2 separate regions of the Homo sapiens genome follow, and region 2 is linked to region 1. The links are contacts of gene promoters, found by promoter capture Hi-C in human tissues and cell types (Jung and others, 2019). All regions are on one chromosome and are shown on one strand. The core of a region is centred on a gene start or on the middle of the fragment in contact, and the rest is flanking DNA. Distances in the headings are between cores, read along the strand shown.

Evidence for each region. The method cuts DNA at HindIII sites, captures the fragments that hold promoters and counts their contacts. A contact is called where the count stands out against the background at its distance.
Region 2: a fragment that was not itself captured here is called in contact with the fragment with the promoter of DTD1 in region 1 in 1 of the 25 tissues and cell types used here (dorsolateral prefrontal cortex).

The regions. Positions count from the first base shown.
Region 1 is chr20:18,585,146-18,590,086 of GRCh38, reverse strand. DTD1 (D-aminoacyl-tRNA deacylase 1) reads right to left here and starts at 2,033. Exons shown (of 6, transcript NM_080820.6): 1 at 1,972-2,033. The coding sequence starts at 2,014. It overlaps LOC124904878 (a long non-coding RNA gene), which reads left to right and starts at 2,622. Exons shown (of 3, transcript XR_007067547.1): 1 at 2,622-2,662. RefSeq lists enhancers at 1,497-1,556, 1,397-1,896, 4,568-4,862 and a silencer at 1,667-2,206. The HindIII fragment of the contact is 3,504 bases long and covers 838-4,341 here.
Region 2 is chr20:19,587,310-19,592,129 of GRCh38, reverse strand. All of the region lies in intron 6 of SLC24A3 (solute carrier family 24 member 3), which reads right to left. Among named protein-coding and RNA genes, the nearest start is that of RIN2, 170 kb to the left of the region's middle. The HindIII fragment of the contact is 4,304 bases long and covers 1-3,721 here.

The sequences.
Region 1 (4,941 bases), core at 784-3,283:
ATAAAACAGGAAGTTAACATTTTAGAACCCCTAAAATAAAATGCCATTCAAACACAGCCACATTTCAGTGAAACCAGCCACATTTTAAAGGAATCAGAAAATCCCTTTCCATTACAATGCAACTAGAAGGCCTGCATAAGTGGAGGGCCCTTCTAACAGAATTCCACAGTTCCCCAACCCAGAATTCCCGAATTATTTACACTTTCCCATAATTAACACCCTTATCTTTTTTAATATGCAGGTTTGGTTGTTTTAACTGAAAGCATATAACTTAAATAGTGAACCAAAATAACCCAAACTCTTATTCAGCACATCTCACAGAATACACATTTTCAATATTCCAGATTAGCAGGATGGAGAGTTCAGGAGAGAGATCAAAATTTAAATCTGTCAGTGACGACCACACACAGCAGCAGACTGCAAGGTTCTTCTCAATAATGCAAAACATCTTTCATCTATGAATTTTCCCAGTTTTCATGAATTTAAATATCTACAGAAATGTTATAAAAGCTTTAAAATTCCTAAATCCCAGTGCTACTCTATTCCCTATTATTCCAGGACCATTTCCAAAACCAAAGCTACCAGAACAGCTTAGAAATCATTAGGCGGGGTTGAAAAATAGACTCTTAGATTTAAATATACGGTTTTGGTGGGTTTGGTTGTTTCTTTAGGGTTTTTTGTTGTTTTTGTTTTGTTTTGTTTTTTGTTTTGGGGTTTTGTTTGTTTGTTGTTTTTTGAGACAGAGTCTCGCTCTGTCGCCCAGGCTGGAGGTTACTGGCACAATCTCGGCTCACTGCAACCTCTGCCTCCCGGGTTCAAGCGATTCTCCTACCTCAGCCTCCCGAGTAGCTGGGATTATAGGCACCAACCACCGCTCCCGGCTAATTTTTGTATTTGTAGTAGAGATAGGGTTTCTCTATGTTGGCCAGGCTGGTCTCGAACTCCTGGCCTCAGGTGATCTGCCCGCCTTGGCCTCCCAAAGAGCTGGGATTACAGGTGTGAGCCACAGCCCCCGGCCTGTTTTGTTTTTAATTCATACTTTTGTGGACACAAGAACGCATATTTGGTGCAGACTGGCTCCAAGGACAGGATATCTGAAATTATTTGAACTGAAACAATATAGTTGTGCCAATAAAGACAGAAAAGACTAAAGACAATATAAAGCTTGTCATTTAAATGTTTTTTAAAAAATATCTTTCGTACCGTGGTTTTCTTAAAACGACTACTTTATCTACACTAATCATCTGGACCTCTGATGCCCAACCGAGACGAAAGTGCTGAGTGATGACCAGGGGTCGGGTAGCTTGGTCCACAAGAAAAAGAGAAATGTTTTCATCTTGAATTCTTTAGATCCCGACCCCTCCGCGCAGAGTTCAGCGGGCGAGGGCGAGGGGCGTCCTGGGCAGGGGGCGCCCCTCATCCAGCCTAGGCTCCAGTCACGTACGTGCACGCAACTGTCAAAGCTCAGCCCAAGGAGCAACTCTCCGCATCTGTGCATTTCATCCTGAGTCAAGCCCCATAAAAATTGGAATACGTAAAAATGGGCAAAAATTGAACATTTAAAATACAGCAGTGAAAAGGGAGGAGTGCCTGCTCCGGAAATGCTCTAAGCGTGGTTCATCAACACTCCCTGAAGAGCGGACCACGGAGATGCTCCGAGGCTCCGCCATCCCGCACGCAGGACAAAGGTGCTGAGAATGAGGCGCGCTGGTCCTGCACCCTCTGCCGAGAGCCGGAAGCCAGGGGCGCGCCGGGGCCGGTCGGGCACGTGCAGGGGGCTCTCCGGCCGCCGCGCTGCCCCGAAGCCGGCCCTGGGGACTCGCGGCTGCGCGGACCGAGCTCGCGAAGGGGACCAGGCTCGCGGAGGGGCCGCAGCGGCCCCAAGGATGGCGCAGGAAGACCCCCCACGCAAGACAGCCGGTCGCGGGGGTCAGGGGCGGCTCCTCCCGGGCCCGGCCCCGCCCGACTGACCTGTGACGCTGGCCCGGGTGACGCGCTGCACCACGGCCTTCATGGCGGCGGCTGGGGCGAGTGGGGCGGCGCCGCGCTGCGTCCGGCCTCGCGACTCTGAGGGCGGCTCCGCAGCCGGCGCCCTCTGGAGGTGACACCCGGAAGCGCGCCCAACTGGCCGGTCCGACTCGGTCGGCTGCTACCCACCCCACGTCGGCCACGCCCACTCTCGGCCTGGCGATAGGCCCACCCACTCATAGATTGACTCCGCCTATGCCTGCCACGCCCACCTGCTGCCCAACCGTAACCCCGCCCGTCATTGAAAAGCCCAGTCCCCACGCTCGGCCCTGCCCCATCCACATCTGGGTCCCGCCAGAGCCCTTTGATCCCCCCATCCCGGGCCCAGCCCCTACCCAGTGCCCAGAACCCACTCTGCCCCGAAGGTAGTCTCTATGCTGGTTTTTTTCTCCCACATACCCGAACCTAAGAACCCGTCATCACTAAGCCTTTAAATTCAGCCTGAATCCTATTTCTAATTGTATTCCTCTTTCCTCTTCCACTCCTCTGCACGCAGATCCTCCCAAATTCTTCTTCCTTGTCTTCCTGCCTCAGTGGCTTTTCAGATACCACATACAAAAGGATCTGCTGCCTAAAATAGCCATTTACCTATCTCACTATTAATTCGACTTAGCCATGTCATGATAATAAATAGGTATGTGATTCTAGAATTCTAATTTCTCATGTAATATAAATGCTACTAATTGGCCCCCTCACTGGGTTGTTAGATTTAAATGAACCAAACCACGTAAAAGTGCTTAGATGGCAGCAAAGGGCTGTACAACTATTACCCCAACAAATTATTATCATTGCTAAAAATAATTCCATCTCAGCAGTCTTCACCTTAAAGGTGACTAATAGCATTGGTGGGCGTAGAAAAGGCACTGAAATTGAGAAGAAACCCTCACTTGCCCAGAAAAGACTACAAACTAGTGTGCTTGTTTGTTAAATACTGAATACTAAATTGCCTTAATAACGTTGTCAAAGTTAACATAACCAGTAACAAGACATCATGTGCCTCCTGATATTGCACTGGGAAGGACACAACATCAATCTTGTGGTATTTCTGCCAAATAATGTATAACCTGAATCCAATCATGATGAAACATAGGACAAAAATAAATTGAGGAACATTCTACAAAATAACCAGGTAGGATTCCGAGAATTAAGGAGGATTTTTTTTTTTTTTTTTTTTGAGATGCAGTTTTGCTCTTGTGGCCCAGGCTGAAGTGCAATGGTGTGATCTTGGCTATCCACAACTTCTGCCTCCTGGGTTCAAGCAATTCTTCTGCCTCAACCTCCTGAGTAGCTGGGATTACAAGCATGCGCCGCCACGCCCGGCTAATTTTGTATTTTTATTAAAGATGAGATTTCTCCATGTTGGTCAGGCTGGTCTCGAACTCCCGACCTCAGGTGATCTGCCCGCTTTGGCCTCCCAAAGTGCTGGGATTACAGGCATGAGCCACTGCGCCCAGCCGTGGACTTTTTAAAAGACAGGAAAACTACCTGTAATCCCAGCACTTTGGGAGGTCAAGGTGGGCGGATCATTGGAGGTCAGGAGTTCGAGGCCTGCCTGGCCAACATGGTGAAACCCCGTCTCTACTAAAAATACAAAAATTAGCCAGGCATGGCAGCGCATGCCTGTAATCCCAGCTACTCGGGAGGCTGAGGCAAGAAAATTGCTTGAACCCGGGAGGCGGAGGTTACGGTGAGCCGATATCGTGCCACTGCACTCCAGCCTGGGTGACAAAGCAAGACTCTGTCTCAAAAAAAAAAAAAAAAAAAAAAAAGACAGGAAAACTAAATTAACCTGGGTGGTATCCTGGCCAGAAAAATCAAGAAAAGGAAAAGCTTATTATTGGAACAACTGGTAAAATTTGAGTTTTTGAAAAATCAGCAGGTCTCAATATTTTGATCACAGGATCCCTTTACATTCTTAAAAATTATTGGGCACAAAGTATAGCTTTTGTTTAGGTGGATTATATCTAAAAATGTTTACTGTTTTTAACTAAGAGAAATAGTTAACATGGATTTATCAATGCATTTAAAAATAGCAATAATAAATCCCCTACATATGAATATCAGAGCAATGAAGTCACTATATGTCACGGAGCCCCTGGAAAACTCCATTGTGCACTCCTGAAAGAATAAGACTAAAAAAGGGAAAATTGGGCTGGTCGTGGTGGTTCACGCCTGTAATTCCAGCACTTTGGGAGGCTGAGGCAGGTGGATCACTTGAGGTCAGGAGTTCAAGACCAGCCTGGCCAACATGGTGAAACCCCATCTCTACTAAAAATACAAAAATTAGCCAGGCGTGATGGTGGGCACCTATAATCCCAGCTACTTGGGAGGCTGAGGCACAGGAATCACTTGAAACCGAGAGGCGGAGGTTGCAGTGAGCCAGGATCACTGCCACTGCACTCCAGCCTGGGTGACAAAGTAAACCTGTGTCTCAAAAAAAAAAAAAAAAGTTAACATACTTAAAATGGAATTCAAAATGTTCACCCCTATGGTACAATAAAGACTTTGGCCTTTGTTAATTCTGGGTTTCTGGCATGGAGCTTTAAAAATTCTTGGAATTTCTCAAGAGACAGGAGTATCTTTGTTATTCATGAGCTCCTTGATTATTCCTGAGTTTACTAACAAGACAATTCAGATTGGGAGCTGGTCACTGGAAAGACCAATAGTGACTGGATGTCTGAGCCAGCCCAACCTGTGGGAGGGGTAGAAGACAGAGATTGAGTTCAACCTGTGGCCAATGATTCAATCAGTCATGCTTACATGATGAAATCCCAGGAAAGACTCTGGACATTGAAGCTTCATTGAGCTTCCTGGTTGCTGAACACATTGATGTGCTGGGAGGGTAATGGCCCTGATTCCGCAGGGAGAAAGCACAGAGGCTCTGTGTTTGGTACTCTCGCAGACCTTGCCTAA
Region 2 (4,820 bases), core at 320-2,819, 1.0 Mb before region 1:
AATAGTACTGATAATACTAAGTGCTGGTGATGATGTGGGGCACCTGGAATCCCACATGTAGGTGGTGGAAATACAAATGGTTTAGCCACTTTGCAAAGCTGTTGGTGGTTTCTTACAAACATACTTAGCACACAACCCAGTAATCCCACTCCTAGGTTATTTACCTGAAAGAAATGAGAGCATATGTCCACAGCAAGACCTAGAGTGCATCTGTGTGCAGTTTTTCCCTTGTGTTCCACCAGCCCAGGGAAAGCAGACATTGAGGCAGCACACGATAGTGCACAGGCTTTGTCCTGTAATCATTTATCTCTGCTTTTTATAATAAACTGAAAACTGTGTATTCGAGGTGGAAGTGATTAGATTCTTAGCTCTGGAGGGAAGGGAGAAATGGGTATGTGGTTCTTGATTAACCTAAACCAATTGAGTAACTAGTTCCTTTGCCACAATGATTGGTTCAGGGATGGTCAGGTAACCTGAGTTGGCTCAATCAGATTTTTGTTTGATGATGCTATGGGGGGATGGGGAATGAGATGTGGTGGCCAAGGAGACATCCTCTTTCTCTTTCCTGGCCAAAGTGGTATGTGTACCTGAGGCCTGAAAATGCTACAGCTATTTTCTGCCATTAAAAAAAAAAAACTAGTATGAGGAAGGAAACAGAGGAGATTAGAGATAAAAGAATCACAACAATGGGGCTGGAAGTCCTGATCAAGTCATACCTGATGTCCACTTTCCTTTGCATTTTTCAGAGACATCTATAAATTTCCTTCATTTAAGAAGCCAGTTAGAGTTGGGATTTTTTTTTTGTTGTTACCTGAAACTGAAAGCTTCTAATTAGTCTAGATGTGGATCTGAGAATGAATCTGACTTCAGGAGATCGTATCAAAGAAGTGGAACAAGCAAGACACACGTTTTGTGAGCCCAGATCAAAGCTAACACAGAGATCTGGGGTGAAGTTGTAGAGGCAATGAAAACAGAGCAGCACAGAGCCAGGTGGGTGGCCTTAGCAGAACTCTGGGCCTGGGACCAACAGCATCTGTCAGGGGGAGATCAGGTGTGGGGCCCTGTCAGGACCTGGCCTTGAGGGGGTTGGGGTGGGGATGGCCAGAGAAAAGAAACTATGAGGGGACAGTGCAAGAGACAGCCTCAGGCAGATGGTCAGTCATAAGACTGGGGCCTCAGCAGGACTGTCTACCTTTCCTGGACCAACTGCTGGAGGCTGCCTCTCATCCAGGGCCACGCTTGGTCTAGAACGTGATGAGAGCTGAGCCTGCAGATGGAGCTGAAGCAGGTGAGCTGCTCTTCTGATTCAGTTGGCCTTGGGCTAGGGCTGGGGCTCTGCTTCTAACAGGAATCTGCCTCCTGATGCCACAGCCTGCAGAAGATGCCGGGAGAAACCCAGTTTTACTGGGTGTGATGGAATTCACTGGCTGCCTCAGCTGGACCTGACCTTGGCCTTGGTCTACTCCTGCACTTCACATTCTGCTCTCTGCTACTCACAGGATCATGTACGGAAGCACGCTGGCTCCTGGATGAGGCCTTCTGCCACACCTGCCCTCTTGGTTTCTCAACAGATCACTTGCTCTCTTCCTTGCAATTTCATCTCCCTCCCTGGAATGGATGTTAGGCCTCCAGCCCCTATTTTTAGGTTTGGCAGCACTATGGGTGTGTGGTTTTTGGCCTCCCCTGTCCTCTGTCCCCAGCTTCTTGGAAAATCTGGATGCATCTCAGGATTGGAACAGGGGAGCTGTGTGTTGGGTTTTGTCTGGGGAACAATAAGATAGAAATCAAGGTGTACGGGGTAAGCTGGGGCAGCCTGTGGGTGTCCCGCTGTGTTTATCAGCCTGAGTCCTCCATCTGTGGTGGAAGCAAAAGCCCAGCTGTGGGAGATGCCATCTGAGTATAAGAGAAACTTCTAGCTGCACATTGTTTGTGCTAAGTAAAATATTAGGTTGGTGCAAAAGTAATTGCGGTTTTTGCCATTACTTTCAATGGCAAAAACCGCAATTACTTTTGCACCTATCTAATACTTCCATTGTAGCAGGGGCTACCACCATTTTGCTGATGTGTCTGTTTTCTTGGCATTGACCCCAGATCCTACACTCAAAACTTCCAAAGAACACATAAAATCCAAGGCTAATCATAAGAATGCAATGATAACATCTGGAGGTTTTTAAATCGTAGATTCCCCCTTTTGGAAGGAGAATGGAATTTATAACCAACTGATGTGAGCTCAAATTCAGTCTTAACTACCAGACAATAGACTCTTTGCCATCTGGGGAATACTGAATCCCCCAGTATCCATTTCCTTGCCTGTAAAGAAGGATGATAACTATCTTAAAACTCAGTGGGTGTATTTCCGCAAATATTTTTACAGAATCTAGTGTGGTGCCTGAACGTTAGAGAAGCTTAATAAACAGTAGCTGGTATTTTTAACATTAGAGAAAATTCTTTAAATGCAAGATGTCCTGGCCCTAGACACTTTATAGTCTGCCTAGTACTAAAGCTTGTGTTTCATCCAAGGGAGCTGAAGATGAGACCCAGGAAGTGTATTGTTTTAAAGTCTTTGTCTTGAGTTCATAGCAAATGTTTTACTATGAGCTCACTCATATTTCCCCACCTTTACCATTTCAGGCCCTTTCCACTGCTGTCCCCTAGATCTCTTTGCCTGGGGGTTTTCCCTGGGCCCCAAGGTCCACTCCGCCTGAGCCCAGCAAGCTGGAATGCTGGGGAATTAATATCCCTTAAGTGCAGTCTTTAACCAATGAATGATGGAAGCTGGTGGAGAAATACTCTAGCTCCCCCGCCTCCTTACATGAGATAACTTAGTGGCTCTCCAGTTAAACTGTCTCCCAGTTCCCACAGAAGAATTAGATCTCTGTTACCCACAGTGATAACTGGCTTGCTAACACACTTTCCTCCACTGCTTTCTCTTCCTTGCCTTCCTTCCACACTGTCCCACAAGCACTTCCTGGGATCACCTTTCAAATCAACTGTTTGCACTTGAGTCCTTGCTTAGAGTCTCTTGGGGAAGCCCAAATGCAGGTGGATTTCAATTCAGAGGTGCAATCTTTGGGTGCTGCTAGGGTTTGTTTAAACGAGCCAGTATTATTTGAAGAAAGGCAAACCCAGCCAAGATGAGATGGGCCTTGCCAAAGAACATCAGGCACATTTTAAGCATGCCAGTAGGGCTGATGTTGGAGCTCTTTATTATAAACTAGAGCCATCTGCCGGCCTGTAATAACCTGAATATGAAAGTCCTAACCTGGGATGCAGTTAAACTGCATAATTTCTGTTTGTGGTTAGGCATTTAAATCTTAACATGCTCTGAACGGCAGATCGAAATTCACAAGTACATTGTTTTACAAAACTGGCATGAAGTCCCTTCAATACAACGTACAAGATACATTAGTATGTTGCATCAAGAGCTCGGTGTTTTCTCTTTGTTGTTATTATTCTTCGTTTTTAAATAAAGGAAACTTGTAGGACCACAGCCTTGTAAATGTCTTGAAGTGATGCCAAGAACCTCTCTATAAGCCACTTTCTAAAAAGCAATTTCCTTTTTGTCCCATAAAACTCCCCAAAGCACCTTAGGTGAACACCAAAGCGAGGGTTATGTTTGCAAACTGCAAATACAGCAGACATTTAATTACACTGAATTCATCAAAACCCTAATTGAGACAGGAACTCAAACCTTATAGCTTAATTACTTTAATTTCAGATGGATAACAGACTTGGTCATGTGCAACCCTCCATGCTGAAATTCATAGAGGGAGGCCCACGGGCACTCGCTGGTAATTCTCCCAGCCAAATGAAAGTGCAGATCAACATAAATAAAATGCTAAGTGAAATCCATGATTGGATTTATTAATCGCTTCAATTCCCAATATCCAGCCTTTGCCGTAACATTCCACTGCACCAACTCCACCGCCTGGGAGAGCTTCTCCCTGTTTGAGGCTGGGAAGCTGTCATTTCTTTTTTTTCACCTCCCACTGGTAGACAGCACAGAAGTAAGTACTAGTCCTTTGAGACTGTTTTTCTACGAACATCTCCTTACTTTGATTTACATTTAGAAGACCTTCTCCCTGACTATCCCTTTCCTTCCCACTGAGTATCCTGTGTCTGTTAATTAAGCTGTGGACACCCTTGACTGTTAGATAAGTTCCATCAATGAGTTGGTCAAATTATCACAGTGACCTAGGTGGAATTTGGAGGTGAGAACCCCAGGGATGCGTATTCTGAGCATAGCTAATGGTGTCTAACTGAGACTGACTTACCATGTAGAGCAGGTCTATTAATGCTGAACATGCTACAATTCATCTTGATGGCAACACTAGGAAGTAGGTGTGCTTGTACCCACTCTATAGATGAGAAAAATGAGGCTTTGAGAACATAAGTAACTTCTCCAGGGTTCCACAGCCAGAAAATGGCAGAATCAGGATTTAAACCCAGACCCGTCTGATTCCCCAGCCCATGTTCTTCCCAAAACATAATTTTGCTTCCTCTGCAAAGACTTGAAGGATCCTACAAAACCCTGAGCTGGATGGCCTTGAAAATCTCCAGTTTGGCACATGACAGGAAAGTCAGAAGGAAAGGTTGGCATCCAGAGTCATCGCGTGGACTGTGGACTGCTTCTCCCAACAGTCATGGTTGTTACTTCTGTCCATGGCTACAGGGTTGTGAGGTGAGCCAGCAAAGACCTTCTGGGGTGAGTCAAGGGACAGACACCAGCATTTTTTGGAGTTCAGGGAGCCCTTTGCCTTTGATGCAGGTGTTCCAACCAAGCTGGGATGAACCGCGTTACTAATGAGTGATGAGCCACA